Regions from separate parts of the Homo sapiens genome. Here all the other regions are linked to region 1. Evidence: promoter capture Hi-C in 16 types of primary human blood cells and fetal thymus (Javierre and others, 2016). All regions are on one chromosome and are shown on one strand. The core of a region is centred on a gene start or on the middle of the fragment in contact, and the rest is flanking DNA. Distances in the headings are between cores, read along the strand shown.

The links. Contacts are between HindIII fragments. The CHiCAGO score rates a contact against its expected background, and 5 or more counts as called.
Region 2: a contact is called between a fragment that was not itself captured here and the fragment with the promoter of ELK3 in region 1, in 4 of 17 cell types (total CD4 T cells, total CD8 T cells, naive CD4 T cells and 1 more). The highest score is 8.9, in total CD4 T cells.
Region 3: a contact is called between a fragment that was not itself captured here and the fragment with the promoter of ELK3 in region 1, in 10 of 17 cell types (non-activated CD4 T cells, total CD8 T cells, total CD4 T cells and 7 more). The highest score is 12.7, in non-activated CD4 T cells.

The regions. Positions count from the first base shown.
Region 1 is chr12:96,192,908-96,196,235 of GRCh38, forward strand. ELK3 (ETS transcription factor ELK3) reads left to right here and starts at 1,468. Exons shown (of 5, transcript NM_005230.4): 1 at 1,468-1,798. RefSeq lists a silencer at 1,293-1,432 and an enhancer at 2,764-2,843. The HindIII fragment of the contact is 11,050 bases long and covers 1-3,328 here.
Region 2 is chr12:96,528,470-96,531,797 of GRCh38, forward strand. All of the region lies in intron 9 of CFAP54 (cilia and flagella associated protein 54), which reads left to right. Among named protein-coding and RNA genes, the nearest start is that of CFAP54, 41 kb to the left of the region's middle. The HindIII fragment of the contact is 2,750 bases long and covers 391-3,140 here.
Region 3 is chr12:96,504,292-96,507,619 of GRCh38, forward strand. It overlaps CFAP54 (cilia and flagella associated protein 54), which reads left to right. Exons shown (of 68, transcript NM_001306084.2): 4 at 2,637-2,808. Among named protein-coding and RNA genes, the nearest start is that of CFAP54, 16 kb to the left of the region's middle. The HindIII fragment of the contact is 3,540 bases long and covers 88-3,328 here.

The sequences.
Region 1 (3,328 bases), core at 218-2,717:
TAAAACATACCCCGTGCCCTTTAGCAGCTCACAGTTGATGGCAGTGAGAAATTTGTAAACAAAATAATCTTTCAGGAGAGACTGCAAAACTAGAAACAAACGTAGTGGAGGAACTCTTAGAATGTGGTCCTTTTGAAAGGACTCACACCCGGCCCCCAGAGAATCTGACTTAATTGGCCTGGGTTGAGTATATTGTTGGAGAGTGTCAAAACACTCCCCAGGTGATTCTGACATTAGCCGGGGCCCGGAACCACCCCCGACCTACTGAATCTGGGACTCCAGGAGAGGCCCAGCCACTAGTGGTTTAACAAGCCCCTTGGGTCAAGTTTGAAAACCAGGGGTCTGGGCTGCTAAGTGGCGGCATGGGAATGGAAGGTTCTGGAAGGTGAGCAGTGAGGTTGGGGCGCAGGCCTGGGAAGGGAGAGGCTCTTCAACAGCCATCCCCCCCAACCTTGTCTCAGCCTAGGGCAATGGGCAGGCTCTCCCATCAGAGCCTGGCCTGAGCCCTCAGAGGCAGGACCTCCTTGAGGGATGTGGAGGTGTGAAGACCAGTTCTGAGACCACAGAGGCTCCCTTCAAGCCTCAGTCTCTGACCCTGCGGGCATTATTTCCATGACTTCCAGTGTTGTGGCTCCTTATCCTTTCCCCACAGGCTCGCCCCCCAACTGAGGGCTGGCTTTTTTATTTTTTTGAGACGGAGTTTCGCTGGTTGCCCAGGTTGGAGTGCAATGGGGCGATCTCAGCTCACTGCAACCTCTGCCTCCCAGGTTCAAGCGATTCTCTCGCCTCAGCCTGCCAAGTAGCTGGGATTATAGGGACCCACCACCACACCTGGCTGTTTTTGTTGTTGTTGTTTTGGTATTTTTAGTACAGACGGGGATTCGCCGTGTTGGCCAGGCTGGTCTCGAACTCCTGACCTTAGGTGATCCATCCGCCTTGGCCTCCCAAAGTGCTCAGATTACAGGCGTGAGCCAGCACGCCCGGCCGAGGGCTGGCTTTTAAAACACCGAAAACCCAGACAGGAACGGTGTCCATCTCCAACCCCAGACGGAAACTGTGCCCGCACCCACAAGAAAAGCAGTCCTTTGCCCAGAGCAACCAAACCCTGAACCCCACTCTCGATTCCCCTCTGCCCCCCAACTCTTCCATCCCAGCGGATGGGAAACAGCGAGTCCAGCCGCCTCCCCACCTCGGGACCCCCCTCCCGGGCCAACTGCGCAGGGCACGACCCCGTCGTGGTGCCCCGCGCGCTCGACCCCCAGGGGTTGAGGTGAGGAGGGATCCCCGGTGTCCCGGGAAGCGCGGCGGCTTCTGCGGGTTGCGGGCGGACCCCCCTCCCCGTGGGGAGGGGCTGCGGCCGCGCGGAGTCGCCGCGGGTCGGAGGCTCCTCCCCGGGGTGGCCGCGCAGGAAGCGGGGCGGGTGGGGGCGGTGCGGGGCGCGCACGGGGCCGGGGCGGCGGGGGAGGCGCGGGCCTGGGCGGCCAGCCCCGGCGCACAGCCGCGGCCGGGGCGCGCGGCGCGGGGCGGAAAAGCCTGTTTACACAGACTGCACACCGCCTGGGGAATAATGCAGTAAAGGAAGTGAGCCGGCTCGGCCTGACTGCTCCAACTTCCTGCTCTCACACACACCAGAGGGGAAAAAAAAAGAGGAGCGAGAGAAAGAAAAAAAGGGGGAAAAATCAGGATCTCATTACAAGAGCCACAGACCGTCTGCAGACGCCTGTCAGCATGGAAAGTCGGGGGCTTTCGCCCGGGTCCTCCTAGAAATTCCCCCCGAAGAAGACTCCCCCACATCTGGGTAGGTAACAGGGCTTCTGCCTGTTGCTCGGACACTTAAAAAGTTTGTTTGGGGGTGTTTTCTTTTTTTCTTTCTTTTCTTGGGCGCGGTGGGGGTGGGGCGGGGGGCGCCGCGGGGTGGGCTGCGGGCCGGGGTGGGGGTGGCGGTGCGTCCGCGCGGGAGGGCCGGCCGCGGGGAGGGGGCGCCGCGGATGCTCCTGCGCCCGCGTCGCTGCCACCGCCGTCGCCCGAGCTCGCGCCGGGCCCGGGGCTGCGGGGACCCTGCGCCCGCGGCTCCCCTCCCTGGGGCTGCGCTGCGACCCCAGAGGAAGGGGCGCCGGGCGTGCAACCCTGGGAGCTCGCCCAGGGCCCCGCTGCAGGCAGCGCGGGGAGCGGGGGACGGCGAGACTTCGGGTCCCTGGGAAGAACCGTGGCAGGAGCAGGCTGAGTGCCTGGAGGCTGGACCACCGCCGACCTTCCAGCTGGGACCGCAGTCAGGCTCCCCTCGAGTGGGCAAAGTGCACTGGTGCTCGGATCCAGGGAGGAAGACAGGGATGGAGAGGGCGGTGGAGGACATGGGTCGCGAAGGTGTGGGGCTGGGGGCTGCGTCCACTCTCGCTTGGCAGGTGACCCCCGCCCAGGTCACCGCCCCAGGCGCACGCCCCATCGGACATTTAAAAGCCGGTGGTCTCTATTGGGCATGGTTTTGGAGAAGGACCAGGCAAGAAATGATCTTGGGGCCCCTTCCACTCCCCATCCCTGTTTACCTTCGAACTCAACGTTGGCCTGTGACGCTACTGTAACTTTTGGGGAGGCGGGATTAAGATTTTGGAGTAGTTAAAAAGCAAAAATAAAAGGTCTTGGTTTTGTTATCTTTTCTGAACCGAATCATCCTAGGGACAAGCTGCAGTTAGGCGGCGGGTGGAGGTGGAAGCAAGAAATGTTATTTCAGAAACTGCAAAAGGGGCTTTTTAGAAAGAAAAAAAAACGAGTGTCGGGAGAGTTTCTGGCTTGTCTGGAAACGGCAAGACTAATTGCCATGCGCTTCCGCTTTGAAACTGGCAGCAGACAGCATCTTGAAAATGACTCACTAGAGGAGCTCACAAAGAAACTGTGGTTTGCTCCTTCTTAGGTTTATGTATTTGTGCCTTTTACAGTTTCCTTTGTAGTGTTCGAGGGGTCCCCCGCCCCTTCCCCGCCAGCCCCCTCCCACCCTCCCTCATTTGAAAGCCCCTGGCCGGTCTTTAACTACCCCCACCCCAGTCCTCCAGCCTGGGGGTGGCGGGGAAAGGGGAGGCTGAGTTGTTTTTGGAGTTGGCTGCGGAGAGGGTTAAAGGGATTCTGCTGCTGCAGGGGGAAAAAGTTCCTTGAATTTTCCACTGGCTGCTGCAGGAAGAGAGAGCCCCCTTAGTCATTGCTAAGTAATGTCTGCACACACACCAACTAATCTCATTAGGAGTTTCCGCTGCTCGGCACAGGAGGGGTTTTGTGCAGCCACTGTCAGCCTGGGAGCCCGGCGCTGGGGAAGGAGACAAGTTATGGCTTTATTTAC
Region 2 (3,328 bases), core at 516-3,015, 340 kb after region 1:
GTATGCCCTCTTTCTCCATTATCTGTAAATGTTTGTGTCATATTGGTGTTATTTCTTCCTACATGTTTAGTTGAATTTTCTGGTGCAGCCATCTGTACCTGGAATTTTTTGTATGGCAATATTTTAAATGATGAATTCAATTTCCTCCATAGATATAAAATTTTTCAGATTTTCTTTTCAGTATTGGTCAGTTTGCTTTCTCTCTTATTTCATCAATTTCACCAGGGGTCCACCAGTTTCATTAGTCTTTGCAAAGAAACAATATTTGACCTTGTTGATCTTCCCTATTGTATGTCCATTTTCCATATTATTGATTTTTGCTCTTCATTACTTCCTTTATTATACTTTCTTGGGTTTGCTTTACTGATTTAAAAAACTTATTGACTTGGAAGCTTAGATCATTGATTTTTAGGATTTGTTATTATTTACATTAAATGCATATTAAGACATTTGTTCTAAATTCAGCTTTAGCTATGTATCTGAAGTTTTGATATATCATATCTTTATTACTATTGGAGTAAGAATATTTTCTAATACGCAGTGTGATTTATTCTTTGATATATGGGTTCTGAACCAAAATATGGGAGATTTTCTAATTATCTTTTGGTTACTGATTTCTATGTTAATTATACTATGGTCAGAGAGCACATTATGTATTATTTGGAACTGTGAACATTTGTTAAGATAGGCTTTATGGCCTAGCACATGACCAGCTTTGGTAAATAGTCTGTGTGTACTTGAAAGACTATGTATTTTTTGTTGTTGTTGGATGCATTGCTTTATATATATGTTGATTAAGTTAAGCTAGTAAATCATGTGGTTAGATCTTCTCTATCCCTACTGATAGTTTTTGTCTTTTTATTTTATGAATTACTCAGAGAAATATGTTAAACATCTGCTATGCATTTCTGTTGGTGTGGAATTGCAAGAGCATGGGATATTCCCATGTTGCTTCATTGGATACTGTTTTACAAAGTGGTTTTTTTTAGTTTGCACACCCATCAACATTTTATCAGGGTTCCATTACTCCAAATTTTCTCTGACACTTAGTATTATCTGTCTTTCTCATTTTGTCCATTTTGGTGTGAATTCAGTGGTGTTGCAGTATAAACTTAAATTTCTCTGATGACTAATAAAGTTAAACACTTTTTCATATACTTTTTTCACTATTGGATATCCTATTTTGTGAGGTGCCTATTTTAACCTTTTGTCCTTTTTTCTGTCGATTCATAGGAATTCTTTATCTATTCTGGATATAATTCCTTTATTGAATACATGTATTGCAAATATCATTTCTTACTTGATGGCTTGCCTTTTCATTCTCTTAATGATATCCATTGGGGAACAGAAATTCTTAATTTTAATATAGTCCAATTTATCAATATATCCTATATAGTTGATCCTTTGTGTGTTGTGGTTAAGAAGTTTCAGCTACCCCAATGTCGTAAATATATTCTCGTATGTTTTCTTCCATAAGTTTTATTGTTTCTTCCTTAAGTTTATGAGGTCTATAATTAGAAATTAGATCTTTTTTGTTTATACGAAGTAGAAATCAAGATTTATATACTTCTATATGTATATTCAGTTGACACAGCACCATTTATTGAAGATAACTTCCTTTAGTTGGCTGCAGTATCCCTTAGTCATAAATTAGGTGGCCGTATGTGTGTTGTCTGTTTTTTCACTCAGCATAATTCTCTTGAGATGTATCCAGGTTGTGTGTATTAATAGTTCACTTGGCGGGGTACCATGGCTCATGCCTGTAACCCCAGCCCTTTGGGAGGCCAAGACGAGCTGATCCCTTGAGCCCAGGAGTTCAAGACCAGCCTGGCTAACATGGCGAAACTCTGTCTCTACTAAAAATACAAGAATTAGCCAGGCGTCATGGCATGTGCCTGTAGTCCCAGCTACTTGGGAGGCTGAGGCAAAAGAATCATTTGAATCCAGGAGTCAGAGGTTGCAGTGAATGGAGATCACACCACCACCACTGCACTCCAGCCTGGGGACAGAACAAGACTCTGTCTCAAAAAAAATTTTTTTTCACTTGTTACTGCTGAGTATTATTTTATGGTATGGATACACCACAGTTTGTTTAACCACTTACCCTTTGAAGGACATTTGAATTATTTCCAGTTTTTGGCTACTAGAAATAAAGCTGCTATGAACAGTTGAGTACAAGTTTTTGTGTGAAGGTAAGTTTTCATTTCTCTGGAATAAAATGCTCAACAGTGCAATTGCTGGATTGGATATATGATAAGTTCATATTTAGTTTTGTGAGAACCTGTCATACTATTCTCCAGGGTGACTCTACTATATTTCCACCAGCAATGTGTAAATGATCCAGTTTCTGGACATCCTTGACAGAATTTGGTGTATCATTACTTTTTTATTTTAGCCATTCTGATAGGTGTGTAGTAATATCCCACTGTGACTTTAATTTGCATTTCCCTAATGGCTAAAGATGTTAAACAGTTTTTCATGTGTTTATTTCCCATCTGTATACTCTCTTTTTCTCTAGTGTCTTTTGTTCACTTTCTAATTGGATTGTTAATTATTTCTCTTGAGTTTTGAGAGCTCTTTTTATGTTCTGAATACAAGTCCTGGTCATTGCTTTTTAAGACAGAAAATACCTTTATTAAGATTTTTTTCTCCTCATCATTACTTCCCATTTTTCATTGCTTCTTTCTAAATTCATTTCTTTTTGCTGAAATACAAACTCTAAGAATTTTGAAGTAGTTTGGCTGGATATAATAGTTTACTTACAAGTTTCTTTAAGATTTTGATGCTCTTTTTTATAATCTTGTATATATAGTGTTTCTGTTGAGAAGTGTAATGTCAGTTTAAATCTTGTTGTTTTATAGATGTATCTTTTACAATTTTCTCTTTCTTATGACATTCTTACATTTTATTCTACTGGATCTAGGGGTGGGTTTAGTAATGCAGCAGATACTTTGAGGTCATATCTTTCTTTCATTTTTTCATGTTACTTTTAAATTTCTTTCCTTATATTCATTATTTAAAAAAAAAATCCTTCAAGGCATTGAAGATGCCATTAGACAGATGTTAACAGGATAGATGTTCATCCTCCATGTCTTATTTATTTTATTCTTTTCATGTCTTTATTCTGTTGCATTCTGGGAAGCTTCCTCTATCTGATTTTTCAGGTCACGAATTTCATCTTTGATTCTCTCTGTTCTACTCTTCTGTTTACCTATTTAATTATTTGTTTCAACAATGATATACTTTTTTGTTATTTTTGTTGTTTGTTTGTTTGAGACAGAGTCTTGCTCTGTTGCCTGGGCTGGAGTGCAGTGGCACGATCTCAGCT
Region 3 (3,328 bases), core at 608-3,107, 310 kb after region 1:
TTTATAAAGTGCTTTGGAAAACAAATTTGATAAAGTAATTTTATGAGTTACATACTATTATCCCTATTTTACAGAAGAGAAAAATAAAGCTTATCACATAGTATAAAAAAGCGACTCAAGATTAAACATAAATCTATTGATATAAAATATTTATACTTTATTTCTAGTATACCAGTATTTTGTTAATTACTACCATTGATTCACTGGTTGAGCAGTTTTCATGTGCTGAGTACTCTTCTAAATACATTGTATGAATTATCATCTTGCAGCCTCATTAAAGTCCTAAGAGGTGCCTCTTTTACAGGTTAGGAAATGGAAGTTTATTAGCCCACTTAAAGCAATGGGCAGGGTTGGTGTTTGAACCCTGATCAGTCTGACTCTAAATCTATGTTACTTCAAACTTGAGGACTATTCAAGGGTTTGGGACCCGTATGTGGTTAATAAGCAGAAACTCTTAAGGCATGTTTGGGAGACAATTGAACAGTTCAATTTGGCTGTACCATAGGTACGTGAATGAGAATACTGGGCGATGTAGGTTGGCACCCTGTTAGGGAAAAGGTCTCTCCTACTCCCCTTTTTGTAGCCTTGACCCCCTACCTTCTGCTTTTTGCTTTTCATATTTTGCCAGAATTTATTTTTCTTTCTTCCTCTTTCTTTCTTTTTCTTTCTTTCTTTCTTTCTTTCCCTTTCTTTCTTCTTTCTTTTTCTTTCTTTCTTTCTTTCTTTTTCTTTTCTTCTCTTTCTTTCTTTTCTTCCTTTCTTCCTTTCTTTCCTTTCTTTTCTTCTTTTTTTTTTGGAGTCTTGTTCTGTTGCCCAGGCTGGAGTGCAGTGGCATGATCTCAGTTCACTGCAACCTCTGCCTCCTAGGTTCAAGCAATTCTCCTGCCTCAGCCTCCTTAGTAGCTGGGATTACAGGCGCATACCACCATGCCCGGCTAATTTTTGTATTTTTAGTAGAGATGGGGTTTCACCATGTCGGTCAGGGTGGTCTCAAACTCCTGACCTCATGATCCACTCTCCTTGGCCTCCCAAAGTGCTGGGATTACAGGTGTGAGCCACCGTGCCTGGCCAATTAATTTCTAAAGTAGAAACCTGTCATTTTGTTCCACTACCCATTGACTTTGCCTTTTGGCTAAAGTCCAAATTCCTTGGAATACATGGAATGCTCTCTCTCTTTTTCTGAGCCTGGGTCACCCCTATAATAGCCTCACTTTTTTTTTTTTTTTTTTGAGACCGAGGCTCACTCTGTTGCCCAAGCTGGAGTGCAGTGGTGCAGTCTTGGCTCACTGCAGCCTCCGCCTCCTGGGCCCAAGTGATTCACCTGCCTCAACTTCCTGAGTAGCTGGGATTACAGGTGCGCACCATCATGCCTGGCTAATTTTTGTATTTTTAGTAGAGATGGGGTTTCTCCATGTTGGCCAGGCTGGTCTCGAACTCCTGACCTCAAGTGATCTGCCTGCCTTGGCCTCACTTCTTTATTTTAAACCATCTCATCCAACCTTACAAAATACTTTCAATTCAGTGACCGCAGCAGTCCCTTCAATGCTGCATGAGCCTGGTGCATGAGCCTGTAACTGTTTTCCCTCCTCTAAGAGCAGTGTCCGTTTCTTCCTCATCCTAGAGTCTCTGTTGCCTAGCAGAGTGTGGCTAATAGAGGTGCTCAAGAAACATTTGTTGAGTGAATTGTGTAAATGGTTATAATCACATCTGAATTAATAAATAAGTTAAAATGCCACTGGGGAGCTTATAACAATTGATTCAATTCTGGCCGGGCGCGGTGGCTCACGCCTGTAATCCTAGCACTTTGGGAGGCCGAGGCAGGCGGATCACGAGGTCAGGAGATCGAGACCATCCTGGCTAACACGGTGAAACCCCGTCTCTACTAAAAATACAAAAAAGTAACCAGGCGTGGTGGCGGGCACCTGTAGTCCCAGCTACTCAGGAGGCTGAGGCAGGAGAATGGCGTGAACCCAGGAGGTGGAGCTTGCAGTGAGCCGAGGTCAGCCACTGCACTCCAACCTGGGAGACAGAGCAAGACTCCGTCTCAAAAAAAAAAAAAAAAAATTGATTCAATTCTGTATTTTTGGTAATAGGATTTGTTTTTCTTTCTGAATTTCTTGTGACTAAGGAAAGCTAGTCTTAACTAGATGGATGTTTTAAAGAAACCTATCTTTTTTTTTTTACACTAATCTATTAAATTAATTATCCATAATTGTTTCCATTTTAGTTTTTTACATTTTGAGAAATGCTTTCCTAAGTTATTTCTATTTCTTCCTTCTTTTTCTTTCTTTTCTTTTCTTTTTTTTTTTTTTGAGATGGAGTTTCTCTCTTGTCACCCAGGCTGGAATGCAGTGGCACGATCTTGGCTCACTGCAACCTCTGCCTCCCAGGTTCAAACGATTCTCCTGCCTCAGCCTCCTGAGTAGCTGGGATTACACGCATGTGCCACCACGCCCAGCTAATTTTTGTATTTTTAGTAGAGACAGGATTTCATCATGTTGGCCAGGCTGGTCTCAAACTCCTGACCTCAGGTGATTTGCCCACCTTGGCCTCCCTAAGTGCTGGGATTACAGGTGTGAGCTACTGTTCCTGGCCAGTTATTTCTATTTCTATTTCTATTTTCCCATGTGTTTCAGTTTCATGCTTTGAGTGGCAAAAATATGTGCAACTACCAGCTGGTCTGCGACAGTGATGAAAACCTGAAGAATAAAGAATCTGTGGTCCAGTGTCTGCATATCTTGTCCTCCTTAAGGCTCATCATGCAAGTGGCTCTGCCACAAGAGCATCTTTGCTGGATTATCTTCAATGGTATATGCTGATGTATTTTATTTTCCATTGTGTCTTTCAGAAAGTTACTTCAATGCTAAGTTTGACAGTAGCTTGAGTACCTTGTGATTTAAAACATACGCATTTCATAATAGGATGAATATATTTTTTTCAACATTCGTGTGACATGTTTGTCCTCGTAAATTGGGATGGATAAAGCATGTCTTTGGGTTTTCACTGGGGAAAGGGTCAGAGACTGTGGGAATAATCACTGTTGGGTGTTCAAAAAGCAGGGCCGCAGTTAACAAGTAAATATAGATGGAGAAGGGTCAAAGAACCAGTGCGGGTTAGATTGGCTCTAAGCATCACCCATTTACTGGCCCTGTCCTCAAACAACTTGGCTTTGGGTTTCTACAAAGTGACCTCCTCCTACTTTTATTTTGAGTGAGGACTGCTGAGGAACACACACACACACATACACACACACACACACACACACACATACACACACACATATGTACATTATGTGTATGTCTGAAGAAATGACTCTCAGCTAAAAAAT